3 separate regions of the Homo sapiens genome follow, and regions 2 and 3 are each linked to region 1. Evidence: promoter capture Hi-C in human tissues and cell types (Jung and others, 2019). All regions are on one chromosome and are shown on one strand. Each heading gives the region's core, a stretch centred on a gene start or on the middle of the fragment in contact. The rest is flanking DNA. Distances are from core to core; before and after follow the strand shown.

Region 1 (5,148 bases), core at 1-2,500:
GCCGCGGGCCTCGAGCCTTGGCTCGGCGCTGTGCTCTCCCCTTCTCCGGAGAATCCGCGCTCCGTGTTAAGACAAATGACAACGAGCACGGCGCAGGGTGGCCGGCTGGGACCAAGACAGGCGAGGTGAGGCTGGGGCGCTCGCTGGCTGACACGCCCCACGGTGGCGTTCGTGGTCTTCTATCCCCGATCTCCCCAAAATCTGTGGTTTGAGTGACCAGGGAGACGTTTTTCTCTTAGAATCTCCCCCACCCCAGGTGACCTTGCGCCTCTCCCAAGCTCGCCAAGGTGATTGCTAGGTCCTCCATCACCCCTGCCACCCGCCACCTACCACATCGGAGTGGCAGCTCTAGAACCTAAGCCTGGAAAGGATGGTGGGTGGCGACTGGAGCTGTCCTGTCCCCTCAGGACGCCTGCCGGAGGCGTACTTGCGGCCCTCTGGCGATCACTCCAGGAGTCCTGTCTCTGCCTCCTCCCCATGTCCTGCAAACCCATTTCCTTTATCCGTTGGCCCCAACGCCCGTGTCCACAGCCGGACGACGCCCCATCCCACGCCCGAGACCACTCGGGCGTTCCGACCCCGCACTCACCCAGCAGCACCCCCAGAGTGGCGGGCCCGGGGCGCAGGGCGTGCTCCTCCATCTTGATGCCGTCCAACATCTTGGCGCAGTCCGTCTGCCCGCGAGGGAAGCACCTCTCCAGCGACTCGGGACCTGTTGCTATATCCATGGGACGCGGGGCGCGCTGCGGACCCCGCCGGCCGGGCTGCTCGCCCGCCGGCCCGTCCACCCGCTCTCCGCCGCCGCGGCCCTGGAACCGGGGAGGCGCGGCCCCCGCAGGGCAGGGGTTGCGCCGGCCCCCGGCGATCGTGGAGCGGCGACGCGCTGGCCCCGGGCCCCGGCGTCGTGCGGGCGGGCCGGGGCGGCTGCAGCCCGCGCCGCGCTCTCCCGGACACTTGCAGCCACGCGCGCCGGCTCCTCTGTCACCTGCTTGTCAGTCCCGGAACCCGGCGGCGGCGGCTGCTGCAGACGGAGCCGCGGGGAGGAGGCGGCGGCGGCGGTGGCGGTGGCGGCGGCGGCAGGCGGGGGAGGGGGTGGGGGTGCAGGGGCGGCCCCGCGGGCCGCGGGGGGGGCGCGCGGCGCAGCGGGGTCCCGGGCGGGGCGCAGCGGGCCGCGGGGCTCCGGGCGCGCTCCCCGCGCTACTCCAGTGCCATGGTGCGCCCGCTGAGCCGCCGGGTTTAGAGCTGGGGCTGGCGGCGGAGGGATACGGGCCGCCTCACCTCCCGAAACTTCCTGACATTTGAACCCCGCGGCCGGTATCCCTGCGCCGGGATGCGCCGCCGGCTCCACGTCAAATAGTGCCGTCCCGCCCCCCCGCGCGCCCCGGGGCTCCGCGCCCCTGGCCCGCGCCCCGCGCCGCGCCTGGCCCCGAGCTCAGGCCCCGGCTCCCCGGCCCGGCCGCCCCGCGGGCCCCTCGCAGAAGTTTTGATCGTCTTCGAAACAAATCCCTCTGCTCCACCCCCTTGAAAAATTGATTTGGGAGTTGGGGAGCGAAGGCTTTCTTTTTTCTCCTCTGCCTTCTTTATTATTAATATTTTGTAAAGCTCCAGCGCTACGAGGAGTGGCCCCGAGCGAGGCCAGACTGCGCGGACGGCAGGGAGCGCGGCGGCTCCGCCAGGGGACGGCGCCGGCCGGGAGTGGCCGCTTGGGAACCCCCGACTGTCGGCCGAGGTAGGTCGCGGGGGCTGAGTCGGAGTCCCCCGGGCGGCGGCGCCTGCTCGGGGCCGCTTGGTCCGCGGAGAGGGCCGGCTCCCAGGAACGAAGGACGGGGGCGGGCAGAAGGCGAGGACGGCTGGCCCTGGACTCGTGCAAGGGGGGCCCAGGCCCAGGAACGGGGAGTGAGCCTGGAGTGTGGGTGAGGGGTCTGGGAAAGCTCCGGGCCTGGCAGAGATTGGGCGGGGGACTGAGCCGATGGGAGGTTGGGGCCCCGGGATCGAGAATGGGGGACACTGGGACGACAAGGAAGGTCAGGCCTGGGTTCAGGCGACCGAGAGTTTAGAGGACAACTAAGGCTGGAAAAGGGGTCCCCGGGCAGGGGCAGGAGCAGTGGGCAAGACCCGGGCCTCCTAGGGTTTGCAGTGAGGGGCGCTAGGAGGGAGTGGTGGCCCCAGGGTAGCGGCTCTGAAGAAATTAGGTTGGCTGCCAAGATCGGGGTCCTTTGGCGGGTCGGGTGCCCGGCCAGGGGTCGCTGGGACGCGCGGATCAAGGACAGTGCTCTAGCCAGCCTGGGCAAAGTGGACCTCGGCAACGGGACGCGAAAGCTGGCGAGATGGAGCTGCCGACTTCCGCGCCAGCCGGGCCTGGCACCCGCGTCCGGTGCGAGAGGCCACAGCGTCGGACCGGCTGTCTGCGGCCCGTGGTCCCCACCGACGCGCGGCTCACCGGGGAGCAGGGGGGCGGTTGCGGCCCGGGGTAGCGGCGGGCTGACCCCCCGCGATCCGCTGCGGGGCGGCCCCGGCCCCTCCCGGAGCGAGGCAGCGGCGCGGAGCCGGGCGGGGGCGGAGGGCATGGGGGGCGGGTCCCCTGACCTCGCTGGAGGCGAAAGGGCGGATCGGATTTGGAACCTGCGGGAGGCTTGGTCAGAAGTGGCCCCCTGCGCCGCGGGGCCCCGCGGAGGGGCCCGGCTTTGTGGAGGATTAGAGGCTCCCGCCCTACCCTACCTGCGTGTGTGTCGGTGGGTATCTGTGTGTGTCTGTGCGTGTCGGGCCCCCGCCTCTGCGGCTCTTGCCTCCGTGTGCTCCTTGGCTCTGCACACACGGTATGTGTGTCCCTGCAACCTTCCAGACTCCCAGGGGTGAATCTGTGGATCTGTGTCTGAGTCCCCTGCACCCGTGTGTATGTGAATGTGTGGGTCCTTCGTGCCTGTGTCTGGGGTGTGTGTCCGCATCATTTCATGCGGGGGCCTAAGTCTTTGTGCGTGTCTCAGCCTCTGTGTTGTGTCTGCGATCCTTTTCTGTATGGGTGTCTCTGTCAGCTTTGCGTATCTGTGCTTATCTCCGGGGTTCTGAATGCTTCTGTGTGCTCGCGTGTCTCCTAGCGTGTGTGTGTGTGTGTGTGTTTGTGTGTGGTGGGGGGCTTTGTGCCTTCGTGTATTTCTAGGCGCCTTTGTGTGGCTAGGTCGGGGAGAGTGGACAGTCAATGTGGAGTTTCTCTCCCACATCTCGGTCCCCTCTTTGCTTGACCTGGAAACCCCAGGCCTGGACCCGCGAAGTTGGGCTGGGCCTGAGCCGCCTTCTCCGGGCATCTGGGGCGGGGGCGCGGCTGCTGCAGGGAGAAGCCGGGCGGGCAAGGCTTCGGCGCACAGAGCCAGAGTCCCGAGGCGCGGAGCGCGGCTCGGGGCCGGCGGGCGGACCAGGCACTTTCTGCCCTCTGCTGGTCGCGGTCCATCCCTGCAACCGGGGCTGGGCGACTGCCTGCAGGCGAGAGTCCTCGTTCCAGGCCCAGACCCTCTCCCTCTCCTTCAGGGTGCACATGGTAATACTCTCTCGTCACAGGCCCTGCACCCCCAACTCCTGGCGCAAGGCTCCATCCCCTCCCCACCTTCCCTGTGCCTGGCCTCTCCTACCCTACAGCTCTCCTTTCCCCCTCCTTGGCTGAATGAGGGCCCCTGCGATCCAGTCTCCCAGGCTTCTCTAACTCGGGTTGGCGTCCAGTGCCGATCTGGGGCCGCTGGCTGTGCCCAGAGGCGCATTCCCCGGACCACTCGAAGGCCTGGTCTCAAGGCAGGAGGACTTGTGGGAAGTACCCCCTCCGTGCCGCGTCTGGTCTGTCCGGGTGCGCATGCATTCTCAGCGCCTCTTCCGCGCTCCTGCCAGTCATATCCCACGCCACCAAGGCGGATATAGGGTGGTCTGCCGCCATGCGGCCCGCGCCCAGATAGGGGCGCTGGCTCGGTGGACGCCAGAGCCTGGCTGCCTTCTCTGGTCTGGGGTGGGGCTGCTGAGTCCACACCCCTTGGGCCCCTCTGCATGCCTTCCCCGCTGTCCATTCATTCCCCCTACACACACACACACACACACACACACACACACACACACACACACACACACACACACACACACCCTCCCTATAGGCCCCGTTCCTTGCCCTTTGTCCTCACTCCTCGTGTCCCGTGCTCCCAGCTGAGTTGGCCGGTCTCGGGTCCTTCGCACGCAGACGCGCAGGGGTCCCAGATCTCTCCAGCACAATCGGGGCTCCCGCGCCTCTCCACCGCTTCCCTTGCCGAAGAAGCGAAGAAGCGGCCGACTGGACGGCACAGCAGGGGCCGAGGCCCAGAGCCGGCTCCTGCCCGCAGGCGGCGAACGGCACCTTGCTCCGCCAGGCCCCTGCGGGTGTGATCCGTGACCCGCAGATTCTCCCGGGCGCCTCTGGCCCATGACGCGGGGGCTGCTCGCTCCACGCAGGCGGCTTCGGGATGCTCTCCCGCTCAGATTTCAGCGGCAGAAACAGCCTCGGATTCTCTCTACCTGGGGGAAAGACTGAGTCGGGGGCTCGGAATCACTGGAAGAAGCGAGAATGGAAAGGGAGGCTCTGGAGCGGGGGTCCCGGCTCCTTCCAGTCTGCGGACGCCCCAGCTCCATTGAGCCCCGCCCTAGTCCCCCCGCTCCTCTTCTTAGGGCCTTGCACCCTCTCCTCTGCGCTACCCGCCTCCCTCGAGCACGGCTCTATGAGCTGCCCTCCCCCACCCCACCCAGCCCTGTCCATCCCGCTCCGGGCTGTCTGGATTGTTTTGTGCTTCTGACCAGAGCCAGAGCCACACTGCCCCCTCCCAGTTTACCATTCCAGCTGGAGGCACGGATCTGGGGCAGCGCAGGGTGCAGTCCTGGCCGGGTTCGGAGGAGTGGGAAGGCAAGGACCAGGAGCTGCGAGTGTCTCTATTCCACTCTGCCCGGAGAACCAGGGCTGCAGAGAGCCTGGGCCGTCCCACGCTGTCCCGGCGCCATCAGCCCTGCCAAGCCTCAGATCCTTGACAGGCGGCCAGATTGGGGGGACCAGAGCCGCCCAAGCAGTGGGCCAGGTTGGGGGCTGATATTCCTGGGAGGTGGCCCCGGGTCTAGGGTCCTGGGAGAACCACACTGACTCCGGAAGTG
Region 2 (5,148 bases), core at 835-3,334, 190 kb before region 1:
TAGAAAGCTTGATAAACTACCTTAAAGGCAAATAGACAGCTTAAATAAGAGATTTTAAAAAACAAAAAAACCACAAAGGCATCCCCCATAACGAAACTCAAGAAATAACACATAATTTTGCATTATAATAAAAGGGCTATTTTTCAACCTTATGAGTTTTCTTCCTGTGAAAAGCATAATTATCAAGTATCCTACTTATGAGCACATTCTTGCACTGATTCCAAGAAAGGCAGAGGGAGGAGAGCCAGGGCAGAAAGTAAGTAGAAAGCCTGAGAAAGATTTTAACCAAATTCATTTAACTAAACTTTTCTAAGAACCTCAGCTGTACCCACTGCTGTAAAGAGAGTAGGAATCAATAAACACAGGTTCAACTGTGTTCCTAACAACTACAGAATGAATTTTGAAAAATTACATGTAAAAGGAGCTTATTGGTTTCAGGAGTCTCCAATGAATACTGTTTTTGTTTTTTGTATTGTATAAAATATACATAAAACTTTAAGACTTAACAATTTTAAGTAATTTTAAGAGTCCAATTCAGTGAAGTACATTCACAATGTTGTGCAATCATCACAACCCATTTCCAGACCTTATTCATCATCCCCCAAAACTCTGTTCTGTAACATTAAGCAATAACTCCTCTCCCCAGCCCCTGGTAAACTATTCTACTTTCCGTCTCTTAATTGGTTTATTCTAGGTACTTCATTTAAGTGCTCTCAAACAACATTTGTCCTTTTGTGTGTGGTTTATTTCTCCCGTGGTGCTTTTATAAAGCAAATAATAAATTCCCAATTATTAGGTTTCTTATAATTTAACTGAAAATGCTGACACAATCTCTGAACTAAGCATGCAGTTATCCCAGAAACCCTGCTACTGTTCCAGTAGCCCCAAAGACCTCAGTCTGATCCTTTCTTAGCCTGTAGACAGGCCTGTTAAACAGCTGTAACTCAAAGAGCAGGCTCCAGAGATCCCTGGAGACCATCCTGTGGTGAGTGGATAGAGCGAAGGCATTTGGGAAGCTGTGCAGGCCTGAGAAACCACAGGCGAGAAAAGGAGAGGACTCATCAAGCTGCTCTGGCCCTAAAATGGGCCTCCTGTCTCCCTGACAGGCTCTCCTGCACTCTGACACTTATGTTGGGCGACACCTGTCAGAGTTGAGGCCAAACTGCGGTCGAGTCACTGAGAGTGTCACCAGTGCAGGGAACTTCACGGGGTCATGAGTCACCTTCCATGGCTCAGAGGTCTGGGCAGCCCTGCCCCACCCAAACTCAGGAAAGAGAGACAAGAGGCAAAAACAAAGTTGGCAGAAAGAGAGAAACAGACAGATGGCCAAAAAGCCAGACTGACAGGCCCTGAATTAGAGTAAGGGCTGAGTGGCAGAGACAGGGTGAACAGACACAGAAGCAAGGTGGAGACAGATATAAAACAGGATCCAGATACCCCGACAAAGACAAAGTGGAGAGAAATATCAGGTTGACAGCGACCTAGCTGAAAGACAAAAAGGGCAGGTTACAACAGGTGACAGAGACAGCAACAGGGGATGCTGAATGTTTTACTTAAACAGAAGATCAGCTAAGTCCAGGCGCAGTCTTTCTCCCAGCTCGGCTCGTCAGGCCTCAGGCATTGGTGGCTCGAACCCGAGGTCGTCAAGCCGCGCCCACCCTACGCCCCGAAAGGCCAGCGGACGGACGGGGGCGGGATCTCTAAGCGCTGTGGCCGGCGGAGCTCCGCCGCCGCGAGGGTGACCTTGGGCGAGAAGCTGCCCCAAAGGCCTCGGTATCGCGGTCTGCGCGCCGTGTGGGCAGAAGACTGCGGGATTCGGAGCTGGAGCGCCGGGACCCCAACCTCCCGCGCGGGGCTTTGGTATGCCGGTCCACGGAATGGGCCTGGCGGGGCCAGCGGCGCGAGCGTCGGGGCCTGCTGAGGAGCCCTTAACTCCCCCACCGACTTCTCCTCCCCTACCCTTGCCGCCCGTGGTCCTGGCCACGCAGTACCTGCCAAGGGCTCAGCGCTCACATCCCCCGCCCAAGATATCCTCTCTGCCGCCGGCGCAGGCCTGTTGTAGCCTCAGCTGCCGCAACAGATTCAGCCTGTGCCTTCAGCCCCCGGAAACGCTTCCCGGTCCCGCCCCCCGAAACTGACAGTGCTTCCGGGGGTGCGTCAGAGAGAAAGCGGAGTGCGCATGCGGGACTTACCGTCTGAGCTGGGCGTCGGGAGAGAGCGCGGAGGTAGCGGGCGCCTGCGCAGTACACTCTGGAGCGGGTCAATTTTAGGGACTGACTACGCTGTTGAAAATAGGGGAGCAGATACTGAGTTCTAAACCTTCTTGAAACCTTGGCATAGGCCAGGCGCGGTAGCCCACGTCTGTAATCCCTGCACTTTGGGAGGCCGAGAGGGGATGATCGCTTGAGGCTAGGAGTTCGAGACCATCCTGGCCAACATGGTGAAACCCTGTCTCTACAAAACATACAAAAATTAGCTGAGCGTGGTTGCGCGCGCCTGTAATCCCAGCTACTTGGGAAGCTGAGACAGGAGAATTGCCTGAACCCGTGAGGCAGAGGTTGCAGTGAGCCGAGATCACGCCGCTGCACTCCAGCCTGAGCACAGAGCAAGACTCTTAAACAACAACAACAACAACAACAAAACAAACAAAAACACCTTGACCTTCTCCGTCTCTTCTCTAAACAAACGAACGAAAACCTTGACCTCAGTATGCCTGGCGGAGATTATCTCCAAATCCGTTTCTGCCTTCACAGCACCCATCTCGCTTTTTGGCATGTAGTAGATGCTCAGTAAATGGTCAATGAAAGGACCAGTGCCTTTCCGTGGGCTGCATTGTGCTGGGCACTGGGGTCACACAGATGGTGGGACAGAAACGATCTCTCTAGCCTCCAATTCTCCCACTCCCTCCCAAAACCTCCATACCTCTTCTCGCCCCTTTCTTCCCCACTGCCCCCCCATGTTAGTGTAGAAGAGAGATAGGTCTTTAGCGGTGGGACTCTTACCTTTGGACCCGTTTACAGACCAAGTGCCCTCTTTGTAGAAGAACTAATTTATACCTGAAATCCAGGCAGCTGAAGCGATGTGGTCATAATGCCTTCTGGATTTAGGGTGGATGTTCTCGTGGGGCCTGACATGCCTGTTTGATATTGTCTGTCTCAGTTTAAGCTGATTGGTTTCCCAGCTGTTATGCCTGTCTTGCTTGTTGTTGGGCCCTAGGACACAGGAGTGTAGCTTTCCTAGAGAATTCTACCAAAAAAATTTTTTTTTCTAGAAAACAAAATGAAAGAAAACAAATATGGAAGCACAGAAATGGGAGTGGATGCAGAACAGCTTGTCAAAGATTCTACTTCAAACATGTATGCTCCAGCTCCCCCGCCTTGTGGTTTTGTTTTGTTTTGTTTTGTTTTTTTTTGGAGACGAATTCTTGCTCTGTTGCCCAGGCTGGAATGCAGTGGCACAATCTTGGCTCACTGCAACCTCCGCCTCCCAGGTTCAAACGATTCTCCTGCCTCAGCCTCCCGAGTAGCTGAGACTACAGGTGCATGCCACCATGCCTGGCTAATTTTTGTATTTTTAGTAGAGACGGGGTTTCACCATCTTGGCCAGGCTGGTCTCAAACTCCTGACCTCATGATCCAACCGCCTCGGCCTCCCAAAGTGCTGGGATTACAGGCGTGAGCAACTGCACCCAGCCTAGTTGAGTATACTCTTTAAGTGTTTTGCCACTTTTATTCCTGCCTCTAAGCAGACCTGAAGTTTGGAAGTTCAACTGCCATCATGTGCCTATGAAGTGGTAAGTAAATGCTAAGGCTGGCAAAGCAGGAAGATTGAGAGAACCTAGGTCCCATATGACATTAGGCCACAGTTCCAGCTTTGGACACCCTTAAGTGTTTTGTTGCATGAGCCAAATAAACTTCTTACTTGGACTTTATTTCTGGCAATATTGAGGACTATATATTTACAAATATTACTACAACAAAATATATAAAATTGCTAGAAGAAATATTTAGAATACCCTCTTAAACGCATGGATACACTTGCAAAAAAAAAGTCAGGAAAATTATCTGAAGCTAGGAGGAAAACAAGAACACAAGCCTGGGAAGTCAAACAATTGATGTTCAGAAATTATGCAGAGGTACCGTCTGCATCTGTTCCGATCCATTGGTGCATGTCCTGTACTGACAAATATTTTCAAAATTATCTCTGGAGATAGGTAAACACTGATACTGCTACCAGCTATAGGAGCGTTCACCTGGGTCCAGGCAGGATAAGAGTCAAATTGCAACATCAGGTTGGAACTCACGAAGAAATATGTCCTCAGGTGAAGGATAAACTATGGTGGAAAAAATCTGCCGTACAGAGGTGCAGCAATTAAAGATGTCTCTCTGTGCCTTGGTTCTGAGCAGAAGGGGAAAACATTCCCCTGGAGGATTCATGGCCAAAAAGTCTGGCTATCAAATGGACACACAATTTGCATAGTTCAAAAGCCCGCAATCGCTTTAATTTGAAATGAACCTGGGTAGGTGGTGCCTACAGTATTTGGCCAAAACAAACACAGATCTTCTCTGGAAGAGCTCACTGGCAACCCAGGTTTCAAAGAATTCCCACAGATAGGGTTCTAAATAAATATGAACTCACAACCAGAAACCACAAACCCCCTGAGGAAATAAGCAGAGAAGACAAGCAGTAGAGGTGGATCCACACCGGCTTTAGATATTAGATATTTTAGAACCAGAATATAAAACAAGCATGCTTAGAAAAACAAAGGGGCTAAAAGCACAAGTGAATATCAAGAAACTCTTGAAAAATTGCCAGGCAGCCGGGTGTGGCAGCTCACGCCTATAATCCCAGCACTTTGGGAGGCTGAGGTGGGCAGATCACCTGAGGTCAGGAGTTCAAGATCAGCCTGGCCAACATGACGAAACCCCGTCTCTATTAAAAATACAAAAATTAGCCAGGCGTGGTGGTGTGCTCCTGTAATCCCAGCTACCCAGGAGGCTGAGGCAGGAGAATCTCTGGAACCTGGGGTGGGGGCAGAGGCTGCAGCGAGCCAGGATTGTGCCACTGAACTCCAGCCTTGTGACAGAGCAAGACTCTGTCTCAAAACAAAACAAAAACAAAAAAATTAGCCAACCGTGGTGGTGGGCGT
Region 3 (5,148 bases), core at 1,509-4,008, 150 kb before region 1:
ACCCCGTCTCTACTAAAGATACAAAAAATAAAATTAGTCGGGCATGGTGGCGGGAGCCTGTAGTCCCAGCTACTCGGGAGGCTGAGGCGGGAGAATGGTGTCAACCCAGGAGGCGGAGCTTGCAGTGAGCCAATTACACCACTGCACTCCAGCCTGGGCGACAGAGCGAGACTGCGCCTCAAAACAAAACAAAACAAAAAAAACAAACAAAAAAAGAGAGATCCACCCACTTCAGCCTCTCAAAGTGCTGGGATTGCAGGCATGAGCCACCGCACTCAGCCAGTGTTGTCTTTTAATTGGTGTGTTTAGACCAGTCTTCTGGCTTCTGCAATAGCACAGGTGGCTAAAACTCTAGATAATCTACTGTATAGCTCCACATGGCTTTGGCCGCCCTCAGGGTAATGCAAAGAGAGAAAAGAAAGAGAAAAAGCAAGGGGGATTCCCCCCTCACACCCCCTATTCCTGGTTCATCCGGCAAGAAAGATGGGTTTTCTTTGGGGGTTTTGGGTGTCTGTGCCACCACCCCTGCCACCATAGTGTAGCTTTCTGACTGGCTCACCCTTAGGACAGGTCGAAAGAGAGAAAAGAGAAGAAAAGATACCCTACACTCTGTAACTCACAAGAGGCCCCTTTTCCAATTATCCGTTCAGGAAGATGGGTTTCTCTTGGAGATTTTGTTGCCTGCACCTGCTACACAGTTCCAGATCTGGGCCACCCTCGGGTCAAAGCTGGGTGATAAAAGAGGAACACAACCCTGGAAACTCACCCCATTAGGGTCTTTCTTCAAGTTTTTGCCCCTCTTGCCAATCTACTTGTTATTTCCTGAATCCTCAGGCAGTGCTTTTTGTATTTTGTCCAGATCTTTTAGTTGGCAGTCAGTGGGACAGAGAGGTTGTGGTGGCACACATTGCCTTGGCCAGCATCAGAACTCTGGTGTAGAATTTACAAATTGAATCGGTGTGTGACATAGTTACATATGCTTAAGCTATTAATGCGTACTTCTAAATTGTTCTTTATTTTATTTATGTATTTATGTATTATTTATGTATTTTTGAGACGGAGTCTCGCTCCGTCACACAGGCTGGAGTGCAGTGGCACGATCTCAGCTCACTGCAACCTCTGCCTCCTGGGTTCAAGCGATTCTCCTGCCTCAGCCTCCCGAGTAGCTGGGATTACAGGAGCACGACACCACGCCAGGCTAATTTTTGTATTTTTAGTAGAGACGGGGTTTCACCATGTTGGTCAAGCTGGTCTCGAACTCCTGACTTCAGGTGACCCCCCTGCCTTGGCCTCCCAAAGTACTGGGATTGCAGGTGTGAGCCACCGTGCCTGGCCTATTTTTGTTTGTTTGTTTGAGATGGAGTCTCACTCTGTCGCCCAGGCTGGAGTGCTGTGGTGCGATCTTGGCTCACTGAAACCTCTGCCTCCCAGGTTCAAGCGATTCTCGTGCCTCAGCCTCCCAGTAGCTGGGACTACAGGCACCTGCCACCAGGCCCAGCTAATTTTTTGTATTTTTAGTAGAGATGGGGTTTCACCATGTTGGTCAGGCTGGTCTCGAACTCCTGACCTCAGATAATCTGCCCACCTAGGCCTTCCAAAGTGCTGGCATTGCAGGCGTGACCACTACGCCTGGCCCTAAATTGTTCTTTAAAACGGCATGTCAATTTACATTACACTAGAACTCTAAAAAATCTTCTCTTTATTTTCTTACCAACAACTGATATCCAACTTTCTATTTTTTCCCCAATCTTTTGGGTGAAGAGAAATAGTATTTGTTGATTTGATTTCATGTTCTATGTTTACTAGTGAAGTTGGAGCATCTTTTTATATATTTTCGGCCATTTATATATATCCTCATTTGTAAAAAAGTCCCTTTCAATCCTTTGCCCATTTTTCTATTTGGTCATTTGTCTTTTTATTATTGATTTGTTGAAATTGCCTGTGTAGTTTCTACTGTTTGGAATTTATCAAGGTTTACTTTGAAACTCATTACTTAATCAATTTGTTTTTATGTTCTGTAAGCATTGGTAAAAAAGGAATTCCCTGTTCAAATTCTACCTAGATATATTAAAACAGTCTTGTTAATTTTGTTATTTAGATTGTCTTCATGATTTTAAAAATATCTGACCTGTTAAATTTTGAGTCAGGTGTTTTAAAATCTCCCACTCTGCATGCTTTTGTAAAATTCTCCTAGTTTTTCAATTTTTGCTTTTTTTTGAGATGGAGTTTTGCTCTTGTTGCCCAGGCTGGAGTGCAATGGCACAATCTCGGCCCACCGCAACCTCCGCTTCCTGGGTTCAAGCGATTCTCCTGCCTCAGCCTCCCCAGTAGCTGGGATTACAGGCATGCACCACCACGCCTGTCTAATTTTGTATTTTTAGTAGGGACGAGATTTCTCCATGTTGGTCAGGCTGGTCTCAAACTCCCGATCTCGGGTGATCTGGCCACCTCGGCCTCCCAAAGTGCTGGGATTACAGGCGTGAGCCACCACGCCCAGCCTCAATTTTTGCTTTTTGCTTTATATATTCTTTTCAGTATTTCTGCCCATGTATCTGTCTGATTCAGATTCATGATTACTCAGCCACTCAGTGATTGAGCACAAACTCTGGGCCCTGCGAGGTGGCTCATGCCTGTAATCCCAATGCTTTGGGAGGAGGAGGCAGGAGGATCGCTTAAGCCCAGGAGTTTGAGACCCTGTCTCTACAAAAAAAAAAAAAAAAATTAGTCAGGAGCGGTGGCTTGCATTTGTAGTCCCAGCTACTCAGGAAGCTGAGGTAGGAGGATACTTGAGCCCAGGAGGTCGAGGCTGCAGTGAGACATGTTCATGCCACTGCACTTCAGCCTGGGAATCAGAGTTAGACCCTGTCTCAAAAACAATAAACAAAAGCACGAACTCTGGTGTTAGGGTACATGGGTTCAAATCTTGGTTCTTCCCCTTACAAAATACGTAGGGGTGGAGTAATTACTTAATCTTTCTAAGCTTTAGTTTCCTCATCTGTTAAATGGGGCAAAAAAGATAACATTTACCTCACATAATTGTTATGAGATTAAATGAAATTATTCATGTAAGTGTTCGACAAATGTCTATTATTTTTTCTTGATGATTGGGTATTTTATCAATACAATTATTTAAAAAATCCCAGCCAGGCATGGTGGTTCACGGCTGTAATCCCAGCACTTTGGGAGGCTGAGGGGGGGTGGCTCACCTGAGGTCAGGAGTTCGAGACCAGCCTGGCCAATATGGTGAGGTCCCCATCTCTACTAAAATATAAAAATTAGCCAGGCGTGGTGGTGTGCGCCCGTAATCCCAGCTACTCAGTAGGCTGAGGCAGGAGAATTGCTTGAACCCAGGAGGCAGAGGCTGCAGTGAGCCAAGTTCGTGCCACTGCACTCCAGCCTGTGCGACAGAGCAAGAGTCTGTCTCAAAAAAAAAGAAAAAAAAAAATCCCTCAGTTCCATTTAACGCTTTCCCTCCCTTGAATTACACTTTTGAAAATATGAACACTGCCACACTCTCTTTCTTCTATTTGGATTTCCCTGGAATATATTTATTTTAGATTTTTCAGAATTATTTAACTTTGGAGGGAATCCCTTGTAAAGCATAATTAAGGTAGGCAGTCTCCAAAAGATGGCCACCATAAATCCTTCCTGTGCCTATCTCGTGCCTGATGGCTCTGCCCACTAGGAGGTGGGGTCTGTTTCTCCTCTCCTCCAATACGGGTGGCCTTGTGTCTTGCCTTGACCAATAGCAAGCAGAGGAAGTGATATGATGTCAGTTCTGGACCTAGCCTTTAAGCAGTCAGGTGACTTCAGGTTGTGTTGGGGAAACCAGCAGGCATACTTTAAGGAAGCTCAGGCTGGAATATTAAACTGTGAGGCAGGCTTGGAGAAAGAGAGGCCACAGTGCAGGAGCACGGAGGCACCATGTGAGTAAAATCTTGGACTGCTCAGCCCAGCCGCCCGCAGGATGGAGCTTAAATGAGTGAGCCCAGCCCATGCCCTGTGGAACAAAAGACGCCCGCCAAGCCATGCTGGCATCCCAGAGCTACAAAATCATGAGAAATAACAGTTCATTGTTGTTTTAAGTTTTGGAGTGGTTTGTTACTCATCAGGAAATAACTGGAAGTAGTTTTTCTGTTTTATTTAATCTGAGAATCTTTGTTTTTTAATAGAATTTAACATTAAAATTTTTTTTTCAGTTAATAATTGAGTTTTCCCTCTGGATGCAACAGTATGATCTTGTTTTTCACCCCCTGGGTTACGTTTCTGTTTCTTACACTGTTGTGTGGTTTGCTTTTTTTTTTTTTTTCCTTATTGGCTTGTACTGTAGGGCGTTGATCTTTCTTCTTTTTCTTTCCCCCTTTTTGGGTAACTATATATGCTTTTCTACTAGTTTTATTGATATAAAATTTTAACATATTTAAAATTATGGTTCTATCAATGTCAAAAGTTAAGTGGTGCCTATAACCTCTCTCTTGCTCTTCAGCTAAGAGTTGTCCTTTACAGGCCGGGCGTGGTGGCTCACGCCTGTAATCCCAGCTCTTTGGGAGGCTGAGGCGGGTGGATCACCTGAGGTCAGGAGTTCGAGACCAGCCTAGCCAACATGGCCATACCCCATCTCTACCGAAAATACAAAAGTTAGCCGGGTGTGGTGGCACGTACCTGTAATCCCAGCTACTCAGAAGGCTGAGGCCGAAGAATTGCTTGAATTTGGGTGGCAGAGTTTGCAGTGAGCCAAGATTTCGCCACTGCACTCCAGCCTGGGTGATAGAGAGAGACTCCGGCTCAAAAAAAAAAAAAAAAAAAAGTTGTCCTTTACAATGTCTTAATACCTCTTTCGTTATCATCTACACTTAAAAAGCATTATTAAATTAACAATAAGGTAAATTACACATTATTATTAGTTGTTTACTCTATGCCTCTTATATTTCAAGAATCTTTTTTGAAAGATTGCATAAAATTCCACAACCACATTGTCAGCCATTAGAATAAACTATCAGCTTAACAGTTTTGATTTCTTACTCATGTTTCTTGTAGACCACATTTTAAAACTACCTTATTTTAACTAGATACTTCTTGAAGTAACTTTTTCAGAAAGGATATATTGGTGGTACAGGTCTGAACTGCTTTTGTCTTTTATGAATAGTA

The links. Contacts are between HindIII fragments. The study calls those that stand out against the background at their distance.
Region 2: a contact is called between the fragment with the promoter of ZBTB43 here and the fragment with the promoter of LMX1B in region 1, in 1 of the 25 tissues and cell types used here (thymus).
Region 3: a contact is called between a fragment that was not itself captured here and the fragment with the promoter of LMX1B in region 1, in 1 of the 25 tissues and cell types used here (IMR-90 fibroblasts).

The regions. Positions count from the first base shown.
Region 1 is chr9:126,610,030-126,615,177 of GRCh38, reverse strand. It overlaps LMX1B (LIM homeobox transcription factor 1 beta), which reads right to left and starts at 1,250. Exons shown (of 8, transcript NM_001174147.2): 1 at 590-1,250. The coding sequence starts at 728. LMX1B-DT (LMX1B divergent transcript) reads left to right here and starts at 1,379. Exons shown (of 2, transcript NR_184148.1): 1 at 1,379-1,729. RefSeq lists enhancers at 1-516, 517-1,098, 1,354-2,322, 4,266-5,130 and a silencer at 3,475-3,544. The HindIII fragment of the contact is 15,813 bases long and covers 1-5,148 here.
Region 2 is chr9:126,801,976-126,807,123 of GRCh38, reverse strand. ZBTB43 (zinc finger and BTB domain containing 43) reads right to left here and starts at 2,084. Exons shown (of 3, transcript NM_014007.4): 1 at 1,992-2,084. RefSeq lists enhancers at 910-1,059, 1,210-1,319, 1,730-1,789, 1,857-2,358 and a silencer at 2,420-2,469. The HindIII fragment of the contact is 16,594 bases long and covers 1-5,148 here.
Region 3 is chr9:126,762,157-126,767,304 of GRCh38, reverse strand. No RefSeq gene overlaps it. Among named protein-coding and RNA genes, the nearest start is that of ZBTB43, 40 kb to the left of the region's middle. The HindIII fragment of the contact is 5,219 bases long and covers 149-5,148 here.